Linked DNA regions of Homo sapiens: regions 1, 2, 3 and 4 are each linked to region 5. Evidence: promoter capture Hi-C in human tissues and cell types (Jung and others, 2019). All regions are on one chromosome and are shown on one strand. The core of a region is centred on a gene start or on the middle of the fragment in contact, and the rest is flanking DNA. Distances in the headings are between cores, read along the strand shown. Region 1 overlaps MMP16 (matrix metallopeptidase 16). Region 2 overlaps MMP16 (matrix metallopeptidase 16). Region 3 overlaps MMP16 (matrix metallopeptidase 16). Region 4 has its middle 46 kb from the start of DCAF4L2. Region 5 holds the start of CNBD1 (cyclic nucleotide binding domain containing 1).

Region 1 (2,700 bases), core at 89-2,588, 1.5 Mb before region 5:
TGACAACTAAGATTACATTGCTTTATTCATCACTAAACTTAACAATTTGTGGTCCCCCCATTCTTTTTTATCTCTGTGATTTAAGGTTTAAGACTGTATATTTTTCCCAGGGAAGTGGGGGATTTGAAGAGGGTGGTTGGCTAGAGGTATTCATGTTAACTCTTTCCTGTCTGATTTTTAAGGGTATAAATATTTGGAGTTGTCAATTATCGAAGTGAGAGATATTTTTAATATGGTGATGAAATCCTGTTACAGAAAGAGAGTGCATTTGGTTTTGCTTGGTTAGCTTGTTTTTTAAGAAGCAAAAAGGAACATCTCTTACAGCTAAGAAAGGGTCAGACACTACCAGGAGTAGTACTATGGAAGAGATTCAATACACTGCTCTACTTTCATTTCAAGTGGAACACTTTTATTGTTAAGTTTTCAGTATATACTCACTTAGGTAAAGATATCCATATATCATTGGATCCCTTTTTTAAGAGTTGGTCTTTCAGTATGTGATAATTAGCACGATGCAAGGGAACATTGCTAATATTAACTAAAAGTCAAAAACTGTTGTCATTGGACAGCAGTCTGAATCAGAGGTGTTCATTGGTCAGAAGCAGCTAAATTATTAACAAATAATTATTAATGTCTACTGTCTTAAAAATCATTTTGTTCCTAAAATAGCTATCTCATATAGGGATTTTCATGATCCTGTGGCTTTTTTTTTTGGTATGCTGTGAGCATTTTTGTTATGAAATTTGAGACAGAACATAGTTCATGATAGTAATACCTCTCATATCGTCAACTCTGAATAGTTTGTCAGATATTACTTATGTGAACAGCATATTCCTTATCAATTTCTAAACAATAGCATACATTTCCAGGGAGGAAAAAATTTTCAAGCTGATTTAGTGGTAAAATAAAAACATATAAAATTCTAAATGATGCATATATCAAAGCATAAAATGATTACTCTTTTGTGACAAAAAAAGTCTTGATAAGGCAAAAATTGATTTTGTTGTTCCTGATTAAAGAAAGCAGAGATATTTTAGATTTCAAAGGGGTCTTTTATGACAAATATGAATTGAGTATAACTATTTCCTAAATTTTTCTTGCAATATATTTACTTAACTGATTTAAGATTTATTCAAACCTTTGTCAGGTTTGCCTGCATGTACCTAAAAAGTCAGAGTTTGCATTGGGTACTTTTGTATTGCATATAAATTTGGTAATAATTAATCATGAGACATTTCAGAGATAAAAATTATATTTTATAGAATTTTACATTCTTATGTTGGGACACTGTTGCTTTTCTCTTGTTCTTTGCTTGCTTAAAAAATCAAGATGCATTATTTCATTTGGACATGGAAGAATGGTGGTACCATGCCTTCTTGAGTAAAGGTTGTCTCCTGAATATAGCCTATAATTCTCCACTGTAGCAGTTTCTAACTGGTCAACAACAGGGGCTGTATGACTGATTCATCAAGATTTTTATGTACCGCAAGATTGCAGGTTTAACAAAACGTCTCAAATATGCTGGCTGTTTAGGGTGCTCATAAGGGCCCAAAGCTATGATAAGGAGAACAAGAGTCTCAATTGTTTTAAGGTTCTCTAGCTTCTCCTACATGTTCTACCTTGACTATGCCTCTCTGTTCAGAGTTGCCTGGGCCGGATCACTCAGGTCTATGGTTATTCATGAAACCATTACATGACGTGATCATAGCTCACTACAGCCTCAACCTCCTGGGCTCAAGCAATCCTCCCACCTTAGCCTCCTGAGTAGCTGGCACTACAGGCACATACCACCATACCCAGCTTTTTCTTTTTTCTTTTTTTTTTTTTAATTTTCATTGAGACAAGATCTCACTATGTTGTCCAGGCTGGTCTCAAACTCCTGAGCTCAAGTGATTCTCCCTCCTTGACCTCCCAAAGTGCTGGGATTACAGACATGAGCCACCACATCTAGCCACATGTCATTATTATTAATAGAAAATAAAGGTCGATAAGGAAGTAATTGGCACCATAGCATCTAATGACATAAACATCTATCAGGTTAGGACATATCAATTGGTATAGGAAGATTTTATTTAAACACCTTTCCATTTATTAAAAATATAATGTACTGAAAATCAACCAAGCTAACATCAGTACATTTTCTTCCCGTAGGTTTTTCTTAGACAGTTTAGTTCAAGAATGTGATTTTCACATTTTGTCATGTCATCTGTTACTATCATAGAATATCAAGTTCAGCTCACACCTTCTTTTACAACATCACGTTCGCTGAAATCTGTTCATCTTTTCTAATGCCATAGAAAATAAATAGGCCTTTATAATTCAGTAGGCCTTTTTATTTTAATTGGATCAAACCCCAAGTGCTTCCTTTTCATAATATGGGTAGGATTCAATAAGAAACTTAAGCCAGCTCTGTTATACCTCAGATTCTGAACAACAACAAAAAAGTTTTTCAAAAATTATGTATAGGGAGGGATAAGAATTGACTGAAAAAGAAATTAAAGTGTTTTCTACAATAGTAAAAAATAGTGAAAAACATATCGTGTCCATATAACATTGGGAATGGCAAGATAGCTAGCAATGTGGTGTAATTGAGCACTGGGGGAGAAGTTGAAGGAAGTGGGCTTTAACTCAGGTTCTTTTGCTAACCTGGCTTTGAACTTGGACATGTAACTTATTTGATATCTCATCTGCAACAATGAG
Region 2 (2,700 bases), core at 109-2,608, 1.2 Mb before region 5:
CATTTTGAATAATTTTGTCACTGTTATTTTATATTCTTTATCTGTATTTTATTTTTGCTCTGTAATTTCTCATCTTATTTTTGTTTGTTTTTAATTTATGTTTTCTCTTTGTATCACATTTTGCATCAGATCCCTCAAATTTTTGTGAAATGATTATCGGTACAAGTAAGTGGACAAGTATTTTAGATACTTTTTCTTTCAACCTCGCATGTGTAGACATGTGTGGGGTGGGTTTTTTTTGCTGCTGTTTTTGTTTTTTTAAAGAAGCCAGTGTATAATGTCTCCCTTCACTGATTAAGTTGCTTGCTGTTGAGTGAGAGTGTAGATGTACAAACCCACAGGGCTTTCTTACTGAAAGTCAGCCATTTGGTGTATGTGACTATCAGTTAGCACCATTTACAGTTGTGATGCCTGAATAGACCTATTTATTCCTCTATTTGATATTTAGTAAGTAACACTGAGTCGTTCTCCTTTATGCTCATAAGGTGTTTGTTTTTTATTTAGAGAGACCCAGAAATAGAAAATGTATCACACCTCGAGGAAGTAATATGTTTTTTTTTCCCAGCAACTGAATGTACTCCACACTTTGTGCTAGTTAGCTATCTTTCCATCACTCAGGTATATCCCATATAAAGAGTAACATTTTGTAAGCATAATCAAGCCAGGTGTACATTCTCAATTACTAGGCATGTTAAGACTGAATGGTTATGAGATAATAGTATCAAAAAAGCTGTCTTAAAAATTGAGCTGGTGCAATCTCTTTCAAGAATTGGAAACAAATTTTAAAACAAAGATGCTAGTGTTGTCAGAATCAGTAACAGTCAAAATAAAATCAAGTAGCTGAAAGGTTGTCTCAAAATTCAAACTGTTGCTATGACTTAATAACTTTAAGCAGTACTTATTACCCTGGTTGGCAGTTTCATTTCAAGAGACACAAATCACTTGTGGAATAGAAACTAAAATATATGAGGCAGAAAAGAGGACGGCAGTAAAATTTGGGAATAAAAATGGCATACACAAGATGTGTATCAAAAGAGAGGAGTTGTCTAAAATACTCGGTGCTGGAAAATGGCAAAGAAAAGAACTGTTTGTTAAGAAATGGTTTATATGACTTTAATTGTTATTTTATTTCAAATGAGTCCTCATAAACAGGCAATTTCTTTATGCTGCTCACAAATTCTTTTTCTTGAAAGGTTTAGGGAGTATTCATGAAGTTCATTTGAGGTCGAAATACATTGTTTCTTACATAGTACAATAAATAGGTAACGTAAAAGAAACATTTTCTATAAATAGGTGAGTACAATGATTATTTATTTCTTTATAGGATGTAACAGAAGATTGATGTATAAAAAGTTATACTAGATTAAGGAATTTATATTTAGTAGTCTTGGTATATGTGAAAATAGATTTAGACCAAGCAAATAGTGCTATTTTTTGAATTATAAATATTTATGGAATTTTAGTATTAATATTTTATGTTGAAATGATCATCTAAAACATAGGTCCAAATGTTTAATATTTGAAACTCTAATTGCTAATATACCTCTACTTATTAAAATGATTCAAAAACTCCATAGTATAGTTTTATTATGTCTATTTTCATTTATATTTAAAGCTGCAATATTTTCCTGTCAATATTACTTGTGTATCTAAAAGTTTTCCTTATTTTCAAAAACTGTTATAACATCACTTTGTTTGTTGTGCCCTGTAGAGTTCCCCAGAAAGCAGACACTGAGACCAAGTTAGGAGGTTGAGAGGTTTGTCAGGGAAGAAGGTAAATATGTGAAAGATTAAAGGGGACAAGGCAGGATTAGCAGCAGGTGACAAAGTCTTGGTGAACCCGATGCCAAGCTTCACATCAAAGAATGCCTCTTAGAGGACTCACATGCAGAGCAAAAATGGCCAGGCTTTAGTACTCTGCTGTGATCAGTCTTTGGTGGGAGGCTGCTGAAGAAGAGTGTAGCCTTGGCCCAACTGATGCATCAGACCCAAAGGCACTCAGCTGATGATAGTTTCTTTCTCTAAGGAAGTCCTGAGCTGCACACCTCAGCGGCAACCACACTTGCACAAGCATTCAAAATTCTCTGCTTGCTAGATAATATTGTGGAATCTGGAAAACAAAATGCTACTAACAAAAAGTCATATGACCTCAAGAGTTGGGCATTTATTCAAGTTTCCTGAGCAACCTATCTATAAACAATATAGAAATTAAAACATACTCCAAATATTGAGCCCAAATAGAGATTAGTGTTACTTGTTTATTATTGGTATCATTTATTTATTTGAGTAGGTGATAAGCAAATTTGATCAGTGAAATACTGTGTTATAACCATTTATTGGGACAGCCTGAGGCACCTACAGTGTGAGTGTATTTGATCTCTCATTATTTCCCGAATTCCAAGCGAGCATTAAGTTAGCATCCTATGTACAAATTATGAAAGGAAAGCTCAGATTCATGACTTGCCCAGGATCTTACAGCTGGTTATTGGTAGAGCTGTCACCCCCTAGTTCTGACTTCAAAGCTATTGAATGCCCCATTAAATAACATAATCTAACAAATAAAATATTGATTATTTATAAAAATGTTTTAAATTCCCTGATGTTTTCTCAAAGAATATATAAATGGTGAACAGTAATCAGCCCAATAAACAATATTTACTGACTATTCTATGCACAGACTTCTGTGTTATGAAGAAAATC
Region 3 (2,700 bases), core at 118-2,617, 1.4 Mb before region 5:
ACATAAAAAGTTTATTGGAAATTGCTAATGTAGTTCAGAGATTGTTGGATGGAGTGCACCAGGAAAGTATGGGGCAGTTGCAGATATCTTAAACGTGAGACCTTGATTTGGTTCTCTGCTTGCCTGTTGGCATATGGGAATGCTAGCAATTTTTGCACATTGATTTTGTATTCTGAGACTTTGCTGAAGTTGCTTATCAGCTTAAGATGCTTTTGGGTTGAGACAATGGGGTTTTCTAGATACAGGATCCTGCCATCTGCAAACAAAGATAGTTTGACTTTCTCTCTTCCTATTTGAATACCTTTATTCCTTTCTCTTGCCTGATTGCCCTGGCCAGAACTTCTAATACTGTGTTGAATAGGAATGGTAAGAGGGTATCCATGTCTTGTGCCAATTTTCAAGGGGAATGCTTCCAGCTCTTGCCCATTTAGTATGATACTGGCTGTGGGTTTGAAATATATGGCTCTTATTATTTTACAGTGTATTTCTTCAATACCTAGTTCATTGAGAGTTTTTAACATGAAGGGATTTTGACTTTTATTGAAGGTCTTTTCTGCATGTATTGAGATAACCATGTGGATTTTGTCTTTGGTTGTGTGTAGGTGATGAATCACATTTACTGATTTGCATATATTGAACCAACCTTGCATCCCAGGGATGAAGCCAACTTGATTGTAGTGCATATGCTTTTTTATATGCTGCTGGATTCAGTTTGCCAATATTTTACTGAGGATTTTTACATCCATGTTCATCAAGGATATTGGCCTGAAGTTTTCTTTGTGGTATCGCTGCCTAGTTTTGGTATCAGGATGATGTTGGTGTCATAAAATGAGCTAGGAAAGTGTCCCTCCTTTTCAATTTTTTGGAATAGTTCAGCAGAAATGGTACCAGTTATTCTTTGTATCTCTGGTAGAATCCAGCTGTGAATCTATCTGGTGCTGGGCTTTTTGTTGTTGGTAGGCTATTTATTATGGCCTCAGTTTCAGAACTCACTGTTGGTCTTTCAGGAATGCAATTTCTTCATGGTTCAGTCTTGGGAGTGTGTATGCATCCAGGAATTTATCCACTTCTTCTAGATTTTAGTTTATGTGCATAAAGGTGTTTATAGTATTCTCTCATGGTTGTTTGTATTTCTGTGGGGTCAATGGTGACATCCCCCTTATCATTTCTAATTCTGTTTATTTGATTCTTCTCTCTTTTCTTTTTCCTTAGTCTACCTAGTAGTCTATTTTATTAATTTTTTCAAAAAAAAAAACACCTCCTGGGTTCATTGATTTTTCAAGGGGCTTTTCGTGTCTCTGTCGCCTTTAGTTCAGCTCTAGTCTTGATTATATTTTGTCTTCTGTTAGCTTTGGGTTTTGTTTGCTCTGGTTCTCTAGTTCTTTTAGTTGAGATGTTAGGTGGTCAACTTGAGATCTTTCTAGCTTTTTGATGTGGGCATTTAGTGCTATAAATTTCCCCCTTAACACTGCTTTAGCTGTGTCCCAGAGATTCTGGTACATTGTCTCCTTGTTCTGTTTAGTTTCAAAGAACTTCTTGATTTCTCCCTTAATTTCGTTATTTACCCCAAAGTCATTCAGGAGCAGGTTATTCAATTTCCATGTAATTGTATGGTTTTGAGTGAACTTCTTAATCTTGAGTTCTAATTTGATTGCACTGTGGTCTGACAGACTGTTGTGACTTCATTTCTTTTGCATTTGCTGAAGAGTGTTTTACTTCTGATTGTAGGATCAATTTTAAAGTAAGTGCCATGTGGCAATGAGAAGAATATATATTCTGTTGTTTTGGGGTGGAGAGTTCTGTAGATATCTATGAGGTCCACTTGATCCAGAGGTGAGTTCAAGTCCCGAATATCTTTGTTAATTTTCTGTCTTGATGATCTGATATTGTCAGTGGGGTATTAATGTCTCCCACTATTGCTGTGTGGGCATCTAAGTCTCTTTGTAGGTCCCTAAACACTTGGCTTATGAATCTGAGTGCTCCTGTATTGGGTGCATATATATTTGGGATAGTTAACTCTTCTTTTTGAATTGAACCATTTACCATCATGTAATGCTCTTCTTTGTATTTTTTGATCTTTGTTGGTTTAAAGTCTGTTTTGTCAGAATCCAAGATTGCAATCCCTGCTTTTTTTGTTTTCCATTTGTTTGGTAAATTTTCCTTCATCCATTTATTTCAAGCCTATGTGTCTTTCACTTTACATGGGTCTGTTGAATACAGCATGCCAGTGGATCTTGGCTCTTTATCCAGCCTTTCATTCTGTGTTTTTTAATTGGGGGCATGTAGTCCATTTACATTTAAGGTTAGTATTGTTATGTGTGAATTTGATCCTGTCATTATGATGGTAGCTGGTTATTTTGCAGACTTGTTTATGTGGTTGCTTTATAGTGTCACTGGTCTATATACTTTAGGGTGTTTTTTAAGTGGCTGGTGATGGCTTTTCCTTTTCATATTTAGTGCTTCCTTCAGGAGCTCTTGTGAGGCAGGCCTCATGATGATGAATTCCCTCAGCATTTGCTTGTCTGAAAAGAATCTTATTGATCCTTTGCTTATGAAGCTTAGTTTGGCTTGATATGAAATTCTGGGTTGGAAATTCTTTTCTTTAAGAATGTTGAATATTGGCCCCCAATCTCTTCTGCCTTGTAGGGTTTCCACTAAGAGGCCTGCTGTTAGTCTGATGGGCTTCCCTTTGTAGGTGGC
Region 4 (2,700 bases), core at 95-2,594, 1.1 Mb before region 5:
TAGATTTATGCAAGCATGATAAAATCTCCATTTTTTTTATTGGAAAACAAATAAGAGGGTCAGAAATGCAAACGAGTTGCCCAAAGCTACACATCTAGAAGACCCAGTTGCCCCACGTTACACAGCTATCTCTGAAGAGTGTTTTGTATCTGCGGGATTTTTATCAGTGTCCTGACTCCATATCCTGCATTCATTCTACTACACCACACTGGATGATCACTAGGGTGCAGCATGAAGATAATCACATTTAGAGTGGCAGTTTTCTTATTTGGAGACTAGACCAAACTTCAGGTTCATGTCCACTTAGAAAATGAAAGTCTAAGACATTGAAAGCTGGAGCAGATTTTGACAGCTAGATTTCTATTGGCTAAACCGGATCCAATTTGGTTGGACCTTTGTTTACAGCATATACTAAAGAAGTGCTTGCTAACTAATCAGGGACTGCTTCAGTCACCCCAAAAATATAAGCAAGGGTGGAACAAATTTTAAATATGATTTTTAGGGATAATTTACATTCAGTGTGTAAAGGATTTTGACACATTCAGTAATACACCGGGATAATAACACATACTCTATCACCATTTTTGAATCAATTTTTCAAATCCTTTGTAGATAAATACTTAAAATTCAATAATTTGAAGAGGATATCTGTTGTCTTTTATATACAAATGATAAAATAGTGATATTAATAATGATATAATACCTTGCATTATGCAAGCAAGAAAATTTCTAGTGTTCATCATAAATTGTTTGTACATATATTCATCAATAATGTTTGGCATGACCTAATACATTTCAATGTTTAATTTTTGTTCAAATGTCAGAATTTCTGTGTTCCATTTGCAAGAGTATTTTTTGGTTGGTGAAGGATTCTTTCACCTCTGAGTGGTGTTTTTGGTTAATATTTCTTAAAGAAATGTGACACGCAAACATAACCCACAGATTCTCAATCACATAGTTCATCCTCTGTATGTGAGTGCATGTACATTTTCTGTATATATGAATTTGCATGGTTGGATTGTTAATGCTGTAATCAACCATGATCATGTTATGATTTAGTACAATTCGGTCTCATTTAACTGAACTATATATGTCTATCACCACTTATGCTTTATTGTCTTCTTATTGTCAAATCTGAAAGAGAAGTAATTAATTTGATGCTTGCTGTATAGACCAATGCAATGACCTTGTAATTCAGACAACAAATGGGCCACTTTCTCTGTTGAAACTTTTTTTTTACGGCTGCCTGCACTCCTCAGGGCATTCCAATACATAGCACTCTGTTTCATTCACATAAAACTTAGACATTGACATTCAATTCTACATCCTTCTGGCTTTTCTGCAGAGTATTTTATCCCTTTACATGAACATGATAACTCATACTGTTGTACCCCAAACCCTTGAACATTTAAACATTTAAAATAAGAGACTTTTTAAATATAAATCTTTATTGTAGGAAATTTAGGTGTTGAAGCACCTGAAGTTTAAAGTCTTATTACTTTTTGCAGGCTCTGTAGAGAGTTGAGATAAACCATCGTGATTATGAAGAATTTATTTTAGAATAAATAAGTAATAAAGATTCTTGAAAGGATTTTTATTATGTTACTATCTTAATGATTATACTCTGAGTCTGAAGCAGAGATCTTCCTGAAACTGAGTCTGTGCAGATATTATGACTAGTTGATTGGGTATAAAACGCATAAATACATAAAATAAGTAACGAAATCAAATAAGACTTTTTGGCAGTGCATAAGAAAATAATTGGCTGAACATTTTACACTTAACTAGAAATTTTTGGAGACATAGCCTCAGGCATATATGGAAGGCACAGCTTGCTTTATTTTTGTTTTGACTCGTAACTATGGTCTAAGATTTCCACAGCCTTTGTCTTGAATAGTTATACTGGATCATTTCTCAAAGACACTCAAAACTTTGTGTCTAAACCACACCATTTAATTTTCTTTGAGAAAATTTTGACCTTTGTGAGGTGTGGTCAAAAAGTAGTATGATATCCCTCATATTACATGTAAATCAGTAGTGAAGGTAATTCCAAAGCAGAATGTTCAAAGCATTGTTCACAGTTTTAACAATGGGAACTTTATTAGAGAAAGCACTCAGTATCTAGATATGACCATCTTGAAGGACAATGCTCATATTATTAGAGACATTCCGACATCCTGTTACAAACCCAAATAGAAAATGCAAAATGAATCAGCTCTTTTTAGTTTCCCCTATGTTTGGAGTTATAGGAAACTGAAGATAATGTGTTTTCTGCAAGTAGTTTTGATTAGTGTTTTGGGAAATTCAGCTTGTTAATTCCAGCTTAGGCCAGTTGTAAGATAAAGCTGCTGTGAACCAGAGAGACAATGAAATAAGCTGGTTGAAGAGGCTAAGCAAATGATGAGTAGTCTTGAATGTAGTCTTGGGAAAGAGCCAACAAGATCTCATTCCTCAAGTCTGACTCTAGTTTAGGATTATGGGAGAAGGTTAAACTATGAGTCCTCAAGTGATCTATGTGGCTTAGCACAGCTTCTGAGACTTAGAAAGAAGAGACCTGTTGTGAACTTTTGAGAAATAAAAGCAGGGCATGTAGCAATGATCATGGTTAATATGTCAAGTTCATTTCAAAGCATTCACTGTTTGTTTTCCTTTAAATAAGATAAAAAGGAAAATAATAGAAAAGAATAGCTGATTTTTTTA
Region 5 (2,700 bases), core at 71-2,570:
GACTTTTATTTTCTTTTTCACAAATAAAACATGAATAGTAGAAGCTGTGTTTCTTCAGCAAAATTGCACTTAATTCTTATTTCCACTCAAGTAGAAATAGAAAACTTTGACCAGATGCAAGATTATTTTCACTATAATACAAATGGAATTAATTTTGTTTAACATAAGGATTTTGTCTAACACTATTCAAGACATCAGTGTACCCCTTCAAGGAGTATCAACTGCCACCTGTTATACCTTTTAACCTGGAGACTATGAGCATTAATTTTTTAAAATGTATTTGGAGAAATTAACTTTCACAGGAAGGGAAAAGGATGGATGGCTTAGCTTCTTCAAATCAATACTATAAATCTGCCCAATGAATAATAAAATAAGAGTTAATGCTTTATTGAAGTTGAAAAGGATCACAAGTATTACCTTTGTTATCCAGATATTTTTTAAAAATCTTAACTAACACTGGAACTCATACATATTGCTAGTCAGAATGATGGTGTTCAAATAATAGATCTTATAAATTCGATGGCCATGAGAAGTGTTTACAATCTTAAGAAAACGTTATAGGTTTAGACTAATTACATAAAATGAGAAAATACTGTCAATTATATAAACTTTGAAATATCTAGTTCTATACTTAATTCTTATAAGTAAGACTAGAAAATAAAAAAGTTAAATAGGAATAAATTTCACAGTCAGAATAGTAGGAATTATCTTTTTTTCCTTGTCAAATTGAAATGAGAATTCTCCTAGAGAATATTAAGTATTAATTATCCCATTAAGCGTAGTAGGACCAACTCTTGGTAGGGAGTAGAAGATCTGCTAGAAAAAGGAACCTGATAGCTGGTGGAACATGTGGCCTCTCTAAATCTTTGTTTTCTTTCATCTTTAGAAATATTTCAATGTATCTGAAGCTCTAAGAGTTCGTAAAGATCCTCATTTTACAGAGAAAAAATACTTAAGACCTAGAGTACTGAAATGACTTCAAGTAGACCAAGCAGGATTTACACATCTATGTTCTTTCCATTCTTCAGCACTGTCAATAAGATTCCCAATGTCCCTATCAACCCTGAAATACCCCCAATTTTCATAGCTGGGGTAAGAACCGCTGAAAACAATGGTAGGTGAATAAGAGCATCAAAGTATTTCCCACTCACTTGGTATACTGTGAAGTGGAGGAGGAGGCACATTGTTAATAGCTGTCATGTGAGACAAAATAGCTGCTGGAAGAGAAGACATCGGCATCTTGATGGCTCAAAGGCAGATAGATGACCAGAGGCTGCTTGAGAGGCAAATGATCACTCTTTGCCTGCAGGCTCATAAAGCAGAACTTCAAGGTCCTCTCTGATAGGTTGAATCCTACGGAATCTTCTTGTTCATAGTTCTTATCCATTGTTTGTGCATTTCCAAGAGTGTCATCTAGACCAGGAAGAACTATGCTACATTTTAGTCCAGTGGAAATCATAAGGAGGACTTTATGAGCTATAGAGAGTAGCAATAATGAAGAAGGAAACTGTAGCCCACAAGGCTGATACAGCAGAATCAACAGCACTCATGAGTCTAGGTGAAATGAAAGTATTCACTTCCTTGGTCTTCCATAGTCCAGAGCCCTTTTCCTGCCTACCAAATGTTTACACTGGGTATCACAGGCCCTTTCTGTACCAGCAGTAACAGAGATAGCATATTTATACTGTTCTTCATGGCCACATTTATAGGGTAAACCATCCCTTCTAATTATCATACACCAATAAACCCACCCCAGCTTACATTTAACTATATTCTGCTAGAGTGTGGAACATGTTTTTTTGTTATTTTCTGCTGCTTCACAATAATTAAGGATAGTTACAATGGCTAGGGTTTACAATCCTAACTAATGTATCTTTTGATGCTGTGTATTATCTTCCAAGGCCTTTAGAAATAGGGTCCTGGTATCATAACTGTTAGAGTGATACGGACAGGAGACAGGGAAACACTGGGTAGAAGAGGGCAGTTCCCCAGTAAAGGCCCCACCCTCAAGCCTGGAGACCTGCGGCCCTAGATTGGGACAGGCATTCCTGTTTTTGCACCTAAAAAGTTGCCTTTTGGCCTGCAACACACCCTATCCTGTACCCATATAAACCCTGAATCCCAGGCTCCAGAAGCAGACGAAGAGATGAGACAAATAGATGAATGGCAGAATGACAGGCAGAGAAAGTGAGAAAAGGAGGAACATCTGAACACTGAGAGGAGTTCAGCCACTGTACGGCCAAACTCCAGGGGAAGATCATTTTCCCACTCCATCCCCCTTCCAGCTCCCCATCCATCCTGCTGAGAGCCACCTCCACCACTCAATAAAACCCTGAGTTCTTCCTTCAAGCCCATGTGTGACCCAGTACTTCTGGGATGCTGGGCAAGAATTCAGGATACAGAAAGCTATCACACTGGCCCTCTACCCTTGTGAAAAGGCAGAGGGTCCATTGAGCTTGTTAACATCAAGCCATCCATGGAGGGTAGGGCTACAAGGGCACACTGCAACACAATGCCCACTTGGGCTCCTGCACCTGTCCGTCTGTGTGCTCCCCCTCCCCACAGGGTTTGAGCAGCAGCGATGACCAACCAAGCAGGCAAACCACAGCCCTGTCACACATTCTGTGAGGGGAATCAGGGAACTCCCCCATTTCATCAGGTAATATACAAAAGGACTGTGGCTGTCTGATACCTGAACTG

Evidence for each region. Contacts are between HindIII fragments. The study calls those that stand out against the background at their distance.
Region 1: a contact is called between a fragment that was not itself captured here and the fragment with the promoter of CNBD1 in region 5, in 1 of the 25 tissues and cell types used here (dorsolateral prefrontal cortex).
Region 2: a contact is called between a fragment that was not itself captured here and the fragment with the promoter of CNBD1 in region 5, in 1 of the 25 tissues and cell types used here (dorsolateral prefrontal cortex).
Region 3: a contact is called between a fragment that was not itself captured here and the fragment with the promoter of CNBD1 in region 5, in 1 of the 25 tissues and cell types used here (dorsolateral prefrontal cortex).
Region 4: a contact is called between a fragment that was not itself captured here and the fragment with the promoter of CNBD1 in region 5, in 1 of the 25 tissues and cell types used here (dorsolateral prefrontal cortex).

What each region holds. Positions count from the first base shown.
Region 1 is chr8:88,321,800-88,324,499 of GRCh38, reverse strand. The region is part of intron 1 of MMP16 (matrix metallopeptidase 16); the gene reads left to right. Among named protein-coding and RNA genes, the nearest start is that of MMP16, 4.3 kb to the left of the region's middle. The HindIII fragment of the contact is 4,597 bases long and covers 1-2,700 here.
Region 2 is chr8:88,064,253-88,066,952 of GRCh38, reverse strand. The region is part of intron 7 of MMP16 (matrix metallopeptidase 16); the gene reads left to right. Among named protein-coding and RNA genes, the nearest start is that of DCAF4L2, 190 kb to the right of the region's middle. The HindIII fragment of the contact is 4,449 bases long and covers 1-2,700 here.
Region 3 is chr8:88,304,557-88,307,256 of GRCh38, reverse strand. The region is part of intron 1 of MMP16 (matrix metallopeptidase 16); the gene reads left to right. Among named protein-coding and RNA genes, the nearest start is that of MMP16, 22 kb to the left of the region's middle. The HindIII fragment of the contact is 8,217 bases long and covers 1-2,700 here.
Region 4 is chr8:87,918,226-87,920,925 of GRCh38, reverse strand. No RefSeq gene overlaps it. Among named protein-coding and RNA genes, the nearest start is that of DCAF4L2, 46 kb to the right of the region's middle. The HindIII fragment of the contact is 5,413 bases long and covers 1-2,700 here.
Region 5 is chr8:86,865,035-86,867,734 of GRCh38, reverse strand. CNBD1 (cyclic nucleotide binding domain containing 1) reads right to left here and starts at 1,320. Exons shown (of 11, transcript NM_173538.3): 1 at 1,152-1,320. The coding sequence starts at 1,239. The HindIII fragment of the contact is 15,353 bases long and covers 1-2,700 here.